3 separate regions of the Homo sapiens genome follow, and regions 1 and 2 are each linked to region 3. The links are contacts of gene promoters, found by promoter capture Hi-C in human tissues and cell types (Jung and others, 2019). All regions are on one chromosome and are shown on one strand. The core of a region is centred on a gene start or on the middle of the fragment in contact, and the rest is flanking DNA. Distances in the headings are between cores, read along the strand shown. Region 1 overlaps PHLPP1 (PH domain and leucine rich repeat protein phosphatase 1). Region 2 has its middle 270 kb from the start of BCL2. Region 3 holds the start of KDSR (3-ketodihydrosphingosine reductase).

Evidence for each region. The method cuts DNA at HindIII sites, captures the fragments that hold promoters and counts their contacts. A contact is called where the count stands out against the background at its distance.
Region 1: a fragment that was not itself captured here is called in contact with the fragment with the promoter of KDSR in region 3 in 2 of the 25 tissues and cell types used here (lymphoblastoid cells and spleen).
Region 2: a contact is called between a fragment that was not itself captured here and the fragment with the promoter of KDSR in region 3, in 2 of the 25 tissues and cell types used here (lymphoblastoid cells and spleen).

Annotation. Positions count from the first base shown.
Region 1 is chr18:62,975,144-62,979,321 of GRCh38, reverse strand. PHLPP1 (PH domain and leucine rich repeat protein phosphatase 1) reads right to left here. Exons shown (of 17, transcript NM_194449.4): 16 at 3,697-3,925; 17 at 1-1,060. Among named protein-coding and RNA genes, the nearest start is that of PHLPP1, 260 kb to the right of the region's middle. The HindIII fragment of the contact is 3,752 bases long and covers 1-3,228 here.
Region 2 is chr18:63,044,705-63,048,701 of GRCh38, reverse strand. No RefSeq gene overlaps it. Among named protein-coding and RNA genes, the nearest start is that of BCL2, 270 kb to the left of the region's middle. The HindIII fragment of the contact is 4,462 bases long and covers 377-3,997 here.
Region 3 is chr18:63,365,879-63,370,152 of GRCh38, reverse strand. It overlaps KDSR (3-ketodihydrosphingosine reductase), which reads left to right and starts at 2,947. Exons shown (of 10, transcript NM_002035.4): 1 at 2,947-3,142. The coding sequence starts at 3,035. KDSR-DT (KDSR divergent transcript) reads right to left here and starts at 2,829. Exons shown (of 2, transcript NR_186602.1): 1 at 2,294-2,829. LOC124904317 (a long non-coding RNA gene) reads left to right here and starts at 3,153. Exons shown (of 2, transcript XR_007066400.1): 1 at 3,153-3,903. RefSeq lists silencers at 2,575-2,624, 2,735-3,184, 3,255-3,314, 3,665-3,714 and enhancers at 2,576-3,523, 3,563-3,857. The HindIII fragment of the contact is 17,335 bases long and covers 1-4,274 here.

The DNA of each region.
Region 1 (4,178 bases), core at 103-2,602, 390 kb after region 3:
GGTGATGCTTCATGATTTCTTTGACCTCCTCTTCCAGCTCCGGGGGTATGATAAACTGATCATCAGGATCCGGCTGAGCCGGGGCAGCAAAATAGCCTCCAGGCTTTCGAAGAGGTGCGTCTGTAGCCACCTCTATCACATTGTGGCTCCTTTCCTGGGGCGCAACAGAGCCATTGGCCCTCCGGCGCCCAATGGTCCCAACGGCAGAGAAGTCTGCCTTCCTGGGCAGACCTGGCTCATCCTCGTTGGCGCTGATGACAATGCCCTCATCACTGGCCTCTGCTGGCACCTGAAGCAGGTGCTGCTGTTTCTCCTTCTCCTTGGCCCGGCTGCAGTGGATGTCCACCTCCACCTCCACCCGGCTGCCGTTGGTGAAGACGCCCTCGATGGGCTCCTCATCGTCACTGTCAAGGCCGTTGTCGGAGAAGGCGCTAGAGAACGTGGCGCTGGATAGCTGGCGCTGGAAGGAGTTGGACAGACAGATGGGGTGGAGCATGCAGCGCTGCTCACTGGGGTAGGCAGGGCTGTTCTCGCTTAGGGCTCCGGGCGGGGGCTCATCGGAGGCTGTTGACCCCACCTCGCTGCTCATCTCAGAAGTGGAGAGCTCACTGCTAATCTCGGAAGCCATGCCGCTGCTGGAGGACGGCACGCCCAGCCCATCTGAGGGCCGATCCTTGATCACCATGTTCACTGAGGGAGGAAAGATGCCAGGACTGGGTGGTGGCACAGCCCCACCGGCGCTGAGCTCGCAGCAGCAGAAGCTGTCCTCAGTGACACTGAGCTGCACCACCACAGCGCTGATGCTGTCGTGGCAGCCGTAGCTCTGGGCCAGGGTACACAGCTTCTTGGCAGCAGCCAGGGCATCGGGCACGTTGCGCACGGCTTCCACGGCCTCCTCGACGGACAGGCTGTCCCACAACCCCTTACTGCCTAGGATGAAGAACTCATCCTGGGGAGTCAGGAGCACGGACTGCACGTGGGGGCGAGGCACCACACTGGGATGGAGGAAGGTGTAGCCCAGGATGCGCGTGGACTCAGTCACTCCGTTCACCTTGCCATCCTGGAAGAACAAGGGTTTGCAGACAGACAGTTAATACAGAGCACCTGCGGCAACTGTGCAGGTTCCCTGCGGGTCCCTCGACTGTCTCGACTGTAGGACCACAGAGAAGTGCTGTGTGGCCCACAGAGGAAAGAAGGGCTCACTCTGTAGTGAGTAGTTAATGTGCACCTGTCATCAGAAACCCCAGGTAGTAGGCCTGGGCAGGTAAGGAGCAGTAGGGACAAAAGGAAAAGATTTCGGTTATGTGTGTTACTGGGACCCCATTCACACTAGGTCACAAGTCCTGCTGTTTATCTAAAGCAAGCCATCATCTAGCCTTACACAGCAAGCATAGCTGGCTAGCTCCTCCTGTAAACATGGGTTTACATCTTCCCTCCCTTGGTGAACATGGTGATCAAGGATCGGCCCTCAGACGGGCTGGGTGTAGGAAGACTCTGAGGTAGCAAGAGACTTTCTGATAGAAGCCAGTCCTGAGCAAAGACACATGACGCAGGCATATATCAAGACAATGCTCCTAAATCTTCCATTGCTCTCCATGATCACAAGAGGCAGTAGTGTCTAAAGGTCCAGAGAGGACTTGAAAGTACTTAAGCGGTGGAGAAAACCTTGGTTTGACTAGGTGGGTAAGAATGCTCATGTCAGGAGAACAGATGCTAAAGAAGAAATGCCAATTCTTACAACTTCCTTGAACTTGATTTCCTGTTGACCAATGGAGAAGGCAAGATCTGCTGGCTTTAGTTCAGCTGTGTGCATGCTATTTAAATCAATTACCAAAGTGCCAGACCACTTGCCAATAAAAAGACCTGGGTTTTTTTTTTTTTTTTTTTTTTTTTGCCACGTGTACCTGCTTGGTTCTTTATTCTTCAAATTTTGAGATTCTCAGGTCCATGACATACCTCTACATGCCCTAGTTTTAACACTTCTTTCCAGGAAAGGCTTCATTATGACAAATCCCTGTCTGGGATGACAAAGTGTTTCTTCCACAGAATATCCATTTCCTTTCCAGTCCTACCACTTCCCTTTATTTGGGATTTGGCAAGGTGTTTACTTGTCCTAGGGATGTCTTTCCCAGCTTCTCACACAACTTTGCCACACCACACTTATAAGCAGGTAAGCATTCCTATTAGTAAAATTAGTAAGATGGGCTTCAAGCACAACCTTAAACTGCCTTGATTCTACTGACATAATCTGTCCCCAAAGCATGGAATTTGGCAGAAACTGTTCTTGCTGTTCTGTCCATCCCTTTAGATTTCTCTCTATCAAAACCAATGGTTTTGTGATTCATGAGCAATGAAGCTTCCACCATGGGCTCCAGGAGTTCTGCTCCATTCGCTAATTCATCAAAGTGTCAGTCATCTGCCCTGTGCCTGAAAAAATGACGTGGGCAGACAGCAGTGACCTGCAAAGAAACATCTACCTTCAAGAGGTTTCCAGTCTTACATTGTTGATAAAACCCATAGAACCATGTACAGTTTGGGGTGGACTCTGGTGAAAGCTTATAGTCCAGTAGAGAAAAAAGACTGACTCCACACAGGCTTTGATGAGGGCCTTAAGAAAGAAACAGAAAGACTCAAGCTATACATGGGATTCTGTGCAAATGAGTCTGTGTGAATTTGTTCTCTGTCTATTCTTGGAGCAGAGAGGATGCACATGGATGGTAGACACTGTGCTAGGGAGCAGAAGACAGTCTAATGTGTACAGAATGCACTGATTTCAACTTTAGTTCAACATTATGCCAAACACAATTGAAGGTAAATGATTTCTGTGACCTACATGAATCATGGTTTGCACGTCAGACTTCTCTTGTTTTCTGTGCCTCGCCTCTTCCCTGCTTTTGTTTGCATTGCTTAATACTCAACAACGAGGTTTTGTTTTGTATTGTATTTTACTTCTCTTCCTTGAGACACGCCCTCCAAACACACACACCACAGTCTGTGTTGTGGAGACTGCCCTGTGCATTGTGGGGTGTTGAGCAGCATTGTCCTAGCAGCGCTGTAGGATGCTCAGTGGCCTCAATCCACTGCATGTCAATTGCACTCTCCGCCCCAGCTGTGATGACCAAAAATGTCTCCATATGTTGCCAAATGTCTTGTGGGGAAGCAAACTGCCCCCAGTTGAAAACTGCTTACTGTGTACTCAAATGGGACATGAGGTATGAACCAAAATAACAACTAGTACACTTACATAGACGTTCATAGTTTACAAGTCATACCAACCTTGTAAGATAGGACAGATGCATGATTATTCCCACTTTACAGATGAGAAAACTGAGGCTTAGAGAGGTTTAAAGGTCACAACCTACAAGTGGCAGAGCTAAGATATGAAAACTAGCAGTGTGATGTCAGGGGTAGAGCCCTCAACCACCAAAGCAGCCCTCTGCAGAGTGGCTGCAAACATGGAATGGGATCATGCCCATGAAGCACGCAGCACAGTGCCTGATGCAGAGAGGCAACCAACAAGCATATACATCATAATGTAAGACATCTGCTTTGTGATACTATGGATTTGGAATTCTAATGTCAAACCAACTTCAAAAGTGTTCTTTGAAGGCAAATGCTCCCTAGCTAGTTTCTGCTATGACCTGGTCTCCTCTCCTCTCCTCTCCACCATCCTGGGCAACACCCCTGTTTTCTCACCTCAGTGATAATGGCCTTGTGCTGTTTAATCCTCTTCAGCTCTTCTTCACAGCTCATGATGTAAGATCTGGACAGAGGCAGCGGCTTTCCATTTCGACAGAGAACTGTTTGGCACTTGCCCACATTAGCAGAGGTCAAGGTGAAGGATCCTCCTGGATCCACAGGGTCATGCTTGATATGACAAAGGACAGCGGCACCACCAAGCTTCTGCCCAGCAGTTCCAAGTTTCCTGGAATCCGAAGAGAGGGGGTGACACTCAAACACAGCCCATCAGTGCCAGTTCTGCAAATTCAACAGCAAGACCGCACCACTGGACAGGGCCAGGAAGGAGACAGCTGGGGATTCCACTCCGCCTCCTTCATCAAAGCACACACTGCTCTGCCTCTTTGATGAAAAGAGCCCCTGAATCTGACATCACACACATCCACACAGAGAGGCTCACAACTGGAAGACAGTATCACTGTACCATTAAAAGCCACAGG
Region 2 (3,997 bases), core at 1,358-3,857, 320 kb after region 3:
GATGAATTGTAAACTAATAACAATTATAGCAATAAATCAGTCCAGATAAAAATTAATGCCTAGTACCCTATGGCTACTGAAAGTTTAAAAAGCTTGAAATTCCAATTTATGGGCATATTTCTGTGGCAAAGAATCAGGACTGAGTGATTGATTAATGCCTTGAAGCATAAAGATATTGCAACGGGATAAAATTCCATGGGAGAAGTACAATGGAAATGTGGGTTCAAGAAGAGAAAGAAATTATAAACAGTTCTGAAAGTTAAGCAACAGAGGTCCACATCCTTTTTAAGTCAATGTTGATGGTTTTCAACGCTCATGGTATTTAGACTCCGTTATTTATATGTAAAAGAGTACTCCAACAGTTCTTTAAATCCAATTTTTACAACATAAAGTATGTCTTTTGTGACTATATTAACATATGATGAAAAAATTAAATGTCAGCCAAAACATGTGTGCAAGAGAAATCTAGTTTTGTTTCAATTATTATATAAGCTACAGGAGAAGGGTCTGAAGTCCATTCTTCAGGTAACTTGGGTTTCTTGATATAAGACAGAACAGTTTTTCATTCTCTTTCACCTGTGCTTCTGTGAACAGGCAACCAGCCTCCAATGCCCGGTGTGGCTAAATGTTCCCTTTGCTGTCACCTGAGTGTTTTTAAGCTTCAGCAACATATGAACAGTTTTAAATTTATTTTTTATTTTTGGATACAGGGTCTCGCTCTGTTGCCCAGGCTGGAGTGCTGTGGTGCCATCATGGCTCATGGTAGCTTTGAACTCCTCAGCTCAAGCAATCCTCCTGCCTCAGCCTCCTGAGTAGCTGGGACTACGGATGCATGCCACCACACCTGGCTAATTTTTAAAATTTTTTTAGAGATGGAGTCTTACTATGTTACCCAGGCTGCTCTTGAACTCCTGGGCTCAAGCAACCCTCCCGCCTCAGCCTCCAAAAGTCTGGAACTCCAGGTGTGAGCCACCACGCCTGGCCTGGACCCCTTTTCAGGGGAAAATATGTTGTGGACCCCCTTTATTGCCTTAAATTTTTTTCTATAGTAATGCTGCTTACAAATACAAAACTCCATATTTAATCCTTTATACTCATAGCTCTTATGCATTGATTTATAAAAACAAATTTACAAGTCAAAAACAAATCACAGGCTGGGCATGGTGGCTCACGCCTGTAATCCCAACACTTTGGGAGGCTGAGATGAGCCGATCACCTGAGGTCAGGAGTTCAACACCAGCATGGCCAACATGGTGAAACCCTCTCTGTACTAAAAATACAAAAATTAGCAGGGCATGGTGGTGGGCGCCTGTAATCCCAGCTACTCAGGAGGCTAAGGCAGGAGAATCTCTTGAACCTGGGAGGCAGAGGTTGCAGTGAGCCAAGATCATGCCACTGCACTGCAGCCTGGGCGACAGAGCAAGACTTCGTCTCAAAAAACAAACAAACAAACAAAACAAATCACAAAGCCAACAAAATTAAAATGTTACCTCACAGGACTGTTGATCTTGTTTGTTGAAGCTAAATTGCTGCTCTCTATGAAACAGCACTCATTGCTGTGGCAGCAGTTTTGTTGTTTTGTTTAATTTTGACATCCCTGTATTCTTGGGGGGCATCTAATGGCTCAGTGATTTCCTTGCCTCTTCTCTAACTAGTTGAAATCTTTGTGTTCAGTTGGCACAAGGTGGTGTCACAGTTTCGTCTGCCAAGATCTCTCCTTTTCAGACCCCACTCTTCTGGCAGTAGACCAGGACAATTATATGTTCCTTGGTGACAAAAAGATTGTAAATACAAATGCAGGTACCTCACTCCTGGGCAGGGATTTAGTTTTGGAGTGGTCACCAAATGATGCTGCATTCACTTCTATTAAGATCTTTAAAAATTAGCATCAAAAAATATGTATTGTACGGAACTCATGGCCCCCACCACATCCTCAGACTCTTGGAGCCCTGTAGATGCCAGTGTGGGACACACACTGCAATCTCAGCTGTTACCCACAACCTGAATGGGTGCAGCGCTTACCAGTTTAGACAGGTCTGAGAAGACATGGAGGAAAGAGAGGTCATGAAATGGAATTTTCCATCTAAGCCACTCTAAGCAGGCCAGAGGCAAATCATCTTTGAATTGCCCAGGATGCCTGGCAGAGTGCCTGGCATGTATGGTAAGTACTTTATAGTTTGTTTGTTAAAGTGATTTGTTTGTTTGTTTCTGAGATGGAGTCTCACTCTTGTTGCCAGGCTGGAATGCAATGGTGTGATCTCGGCTCACTGCCGCCTCCACATACCAGGTTCAAGCAATTCTCTTGCCTCAGTCTCCCAAAGTGGCTGGGATTGCAGGCATCCACCACCACGCCGGGTTAATTTTTGTTTTGTTTTTGAGACGGAGTTTTGCTCTTGTTGCCCAGGCTGGAGTGCAATGGCGCAATCTCGGTTCACCGCAACCTCCACCTTCTGGGTTCAAGCGATTCTCCTGCCTCAGCCTCTCGAGTAGCTGGAATTACAGGCATGCGCCACTACACCTGGCTAATTTTGTATTTTTAGTAGAAACAGGGTTTCTCCAGGTTGGTCAGGCTGGTCTTGAACTCCTGACCTCAGGTGATCCACCCGCCTCGGCCTCCCAAAGTGCTGGGATTACAGGCATGAGCCACCGTGCCCGGCCAATTTTTGTATTTTTAGTAGGGACGGGGTTTCACCATGTTGGCCAGGCTGGTCTCAAACTCCTGACCTCAGGTGATCCTACTGCCTCGGCCTCCCTAAGTGCTGTGATTACAGGCTGTTAAAGTGATTTAAATAGAAGACTCAAGTTATTAAGTCACCCAGGATGGGCCTCTGATGATTGGCTTTGTTTCTAAATATCCCAAAAATAATTTATCTGGGTTTATTACCATATTATATATAATCCTAAGCTCCTCCTATATATTTATATATAATATTATAACACATTATATATTATATATATATTTCATATATAATATATAGTACATTAAATATATTTAATATAGGTACATTAAAATTATATTAAATATATATTAATTATAGTGAAGTAAAAATATTATATACTATACATGAGTTATAAATAATACATGTGTTATATAATATATAAAATTATATTATAACTCATAGATCATATGACATATATTATAGAGGCTGGGGTGGGGTGAGGCTCTGGTAGACTCATCTCGAAGCCACTGTGGTTTGGCAAGTGCACTTCCATTGTGTGTCTCCGGAGAGCATATCTGAAGGGGGCCATTGGAGGCTGGGGCCACTATTGCTAAGCGCCGGTGGGAATTTAAATCATTGGATGTGTTGTTCATTATTCCCAGTCCTGTCTGAGTCTGCCATGGAGAAAGGTGTTCTCAGCATTGACTCCCCAGCCTTTCTCCAACCTTACCCCAAGCTTTTGAATAATACATGTTTTCCTTGTCCGCAGATGATTTTCTCTTAAAAACATACGATGCCATCTAATCCCAAATGAGGGGCTAAATAGAACCCACACTTTTAAAAATAAAGTCATGTCTTTCCTATAATTTTTTAGCACTTAGTATATTTTGAGACTGTAACATTCTGGCACTCTTAGTTTTCTTCCAGAGACGTTATCAAGTTCTAAGTCATGTCGCTAAGTCAGCAACAAGCTTTCTTCCGTGCCTGATAGTCTAAGAACTCAACACACAGGCTTTAAAACTACATTACCTTGGTTTAAATCTCACTCTTGCAACTTATTTGTTCTCTGACTTGGGAAGGCCACTTAACATTTCTGAGCCTTAGTTTTCTCATTTCAAAAATGGTTGTTGAAAGGACTAGGGGAAATAATACTGATCAGGTTTTTAATCACCATGCCTGGCATCGCAAAGAGCTCAATAAATAATAGCTGTTTTTCTGTCATTGCCTCCTAAAATATATAAATTCACATATGATTTTGGGAATTGAGTTCCTCGAATGAGATTTCCAAAGACTTTATTGGATGTAATTCATTTTCTAGAACTTAATTTCTTCCCAGG
Region 3 (4,274 bases), core at 1,698-4,197:
CTATAGGATACTTGGTGGACAAAACATGTTAAAAAGACAGTCTGGTACCTAAAGGGTGAAGGCCACTTCTGTTTTTGGAAACTGATAGCATCAGATGGGAACTTTCAAGCCTGAGTGGCATTTCTCTGGGAGACATTTTGGTCATACAATATGATGATGAACTGGACCAGTTGTTGATGGCAGAGTGGAAGTCTTATATCTATCTGCCACTATCTTTTGACTCTAATTTTTCAAATTATGTTTACTACCATATCATAATACAGTGTAACTCTGGGATTGTAAGTGAGGTTTTAATGTTCACACTGATGGCCAATGTATTGAGAAATTGAGTTAAAAGCCTCCTACTCTACACTGGCTCCTCCAAATGTCAGATATATGTTCATTTTACTGTAAGAGAGCTTTGGCCAAAGGCCAGGTGGCAGCCGTGTTGTAAAGGATTCAGTCTTGCCCAAAGAGAAGGTTTGACTTTTGCCCTTGGCTTATGGGAGGTTATCTACGTCATACCTGATAGGAGTACCTCTGTTTAGATGGGGACTGGGCAAACTGGATTTTAGGGTGGAGACTGGCCATTCCAGAGAGACCAAGTATGTGAATTAGGGGGCTTTTGTCATGCACTATCAGTCTAGTTGGAGTCTCAGTCCAACCAAGTGGACAATTGATCAAGCCTATGTGCTGGAGTCCCAGTAAAAACTCTGGACACAGAAGCTCAGACAAGTGTCCCTGGTTGACAATACTCCAAGCATACTGTCACATACCAATGCTGGGAAGGTAACACAGCCTGACTCCGTGGGAGATGACAACAGGAGCTTTGCATTTGGAGCCCTCCAGACTCTGCCTTAGGCATTTCTTTCCTTAGCTGACTTTGATCTGTATTCTTTCCCCATAATAAACCATAACTATGAGCATAATGGCTTTCAGTGAGTTCTGTGAGTCCTTCCAGTGAATGATCAAACCTGAGGGTGGTTCAGGAACCTCTAAACTTGCATTGATATCAGAAGTCTTGGACATTATGCCTTCAAATTTTGCAGTTTGGCTAACTGCTGTAAGTCAAGAAAAAAAGGAAAAGAAAAACTTTTTTTTCTCCTTCGCTCCCTAGTATTTCTAGAAACAACAACAAAAATGAAAAGCAAGTAAGCAAACAAAAATATGTGCCTCTATGCAAATTAAAATCACAATGAGACTTCACACCAACTAAAAAAGCTATAATCAGAAAGACGGATGATAACAACTGTTAGTGAAGATGTAGAGAAATTGGAACCCACATACACTGCTGGTGGGAACACAAAATGTTGTACTCACTTTGGAAAACTTCTGGCAATTCCTCAAATAGTTAAACATAGAGTTGCCGTAAGATGTAGCAACTCCCCTACTAGGCATGTACCCAAGAGAAATGAAACATAATGCCCACACAAAAACCGGTAAATGAATATTTACAGTTAGCATAATTCTAATAGTCAAAAAGTGGAAACAACCTAAATATTCCTCAATTGATGAATGGAAAATTAAAATGTCGTATAGTCATACAATGGGATATTATTTGGCAATAAAAATAAATGAAGTATTAACATGTAGTACTTCATATCATGGATGAACCTTGAAAACATTACAGTAAGTGAAAGATAGGATGAAAAAGGCTACATATTATATGATTCCATTTATGTGAAATATCCCGAATAGGCAAGATTATAGAGACAGAAACATGAGGGATTGCTTAGGCTTGGGCGGGGCTTGGGAGGAAATGGGTCGTGACTGCCAATGAGTATAGGATTTTGGGGGGTTGTGACAAAAATGTTCTAAAATTTATGGTAGTGATGGGTCTACAACTGTGACTATATTAAAGACAATTTATTATAAGCTTTATTTATTTATTTATTTTTGAGACGGAGTCTTGATCTGTCACCCAGGCTGGAGTGCAGTGGCGCGATCTCACCGCAATCTCTGCCTCCCGGGTTCAAGCGATTCTCCTGCCTCAGCCTCCAGGGTAGCTGGGATTACAAGCATACGCCACCATGCCCGGGTGATTTTTTGTATTTTTAGTAGAGACGGGGGTTTCACCATCATGGCCAGGCTGGTCTCGAACTCCAGACCTGAAGAGATCCGCCCGCCTCAGCCTCCCAAAGGTCGGGGATTACAGGCGCGAGCTACCTCGCCCGGCCTATTACGCACGTTAAATCGGGAATTGTATGGTATAGTACGTGAATGAGACCTTAATAAAGCTGAGTTGTTTGCGTTATTTATTTGTTTTGAACCTGCTTGGTAAAGATGAACTCTGAACTCAATGAAATTGAATTACCTTAGTGATTCCTCAAAACTCCCTGTTAAGGCTTTCCGGTCCTCTGAAAAGCGAAAGTGGGCCGTGACCATCTTCTAAAAACGCCAAAAAATATGGAATGGAGCCCGGGATTTCAGAGCGTAGTCGCTGGGCTCCCAGGCTGAGCCCGCTCCGGGAGCCTCCAGCCGCCCTTTCCGATGCTCCGGGGCCTCCGAGCAACCCAGCGGGCAGTCCCAAGCCGAGGGCTGAACTCCAGGGAGGAGCGCTCGTCACGCCCACACTGGAGGCCGTGGCAGGCCTGGAAACCCGCCCTGCGGGGTCCTAAGAAGCCATTCGAGCTCCCGAAGAGCGAGTCTTCGCAGCCCTTCCCGGCGCGCTCGCATCTGGCGCTGTCCGGAGCCCGCTCGCGACGCACAGGGACGGGAGGCCCGGTTTCCACGGGAGAGGCTGCGGACTGCGGGCCCCGTCCCGAGGCCGGGGGAGTGGGAGACACCCGGCGACCCCCGAGAGGCGATTCTGGCAGTGGTGGCGGTGGCGGTGGCGGTGGCGGCCTACTCGCCCCCTGGAAGCACCGCCCCGCCTGGGTGGCGCGCGCGCCGGCTCCTCCTCTTCCCCTCCGCCGCGGCCCGCCCCGGCCCGCAAACCCAAACACTCCAGGCGCCCGCCCGCCGCGCGTGATTCTCGCCTCGCCGCAGCCCAGCCCTGCGCGCCTTGCCCGGCGGCCCCCGCCCGGCCGCTCCGGGCCCCTGGCCCCGCGGAGCGATGCTGCTGCTGGCTGCCGCCTTCCTCGTGGCCTTCGTGCTGCTGCTGTACATGGTGTCTCCGCTCATCAGCCCCAAGCCCCTCGCCCTGCCCGGGGCGCATGTGGTGGTGAGTGGCCTCCTGTTGCTGCCCCCCGACTTACCGGCCCGCGCGGCCTTTCCGCCGCCGAGGCCGCGTAGCCTACGTCCCTTTTTCCAGGCCGCGGTCCCCAGGAAGGCATGGCCAAATGGGGAAGGTCACCTGCCGCCGTCCACCCCGGCGCTTTTCCCCCGGCCCCGGCACCCGGCCTCGCGGACCCGCCCTCCGCAGCCTCGGGCTCCTCCTAGGGCCGGAGAGCGTGCGACGGGGGACCCCGCCGGCCGCAGGGTTCCCGGGGCCCCAGGGGTTCTGTGGCTGCTCGTGAATCCATGCAACATCCCTGGGATGTGGATGTTTTGTCCTCAGTTTTTCCGATGAGTCAACTGAGGCACAGAGAGGCTGAGAAACTTTGCCAAGGACACAGCGGTCGGTGGTGTGCAGGGTGCGGCGCGCGGCCCCGGGCGGGGGCAGACAGCGGGGAAGTGGGGTCCCAGCCGCCGGGACCCGCCGAGGCAGCTCGGAACTGGAAGATGGCCTGTGCGAGTGACGGGAAGAGCCGCTGCCAGAGGATTCCAGGAAGTGACTCACCTGGGGAAACTGCTCAGAACCCAGCGGGCTGGCGGTGGTGGCTTAGCGGTATTGGGACGCCTGTCCCGTCTACACTGCTTGTCTCTGAGCTCAGCGTGGCATCTGCTGATTGCTGCTCCAATGCAATCCTTTGCTGTTTTCTAGTGGGAAGGATGAGCTAAACGACAAGGCTTGTGTGCGAGGAATGAAGGAGAGGTGGATAGGTGTGATTTATTTCTTGGCGGAAGCTCGCATATTCAGCGATCCCTGTTCTGCAAATGTGGCACCTTTCTTAAACAGAGAGAATGCCTCCTTGCCTGCGCCCAGCACTTTCCCGTTTGCAGTGGCTTTCTCACGAGCATTCTCGTTTGGATCTCCCAAACCCGAGGCACAGTGAGGCGAGGAGTTAGGAGTAAGGAGGGTTGGTTACAAAATTGGCCGCACACCTCTTCCTGTCCTATCTCTGCACCGGAGATCCGAGCCTCCCCGCTGAGCTGGTATAAAATAAGATGGTCGTTTTTCTTAGTATGCTTTAAATCTGTACAAGGGTTTGTGAATGAGAAAATGTATCTGTTTAATTTCTCCTTTGTAAAGC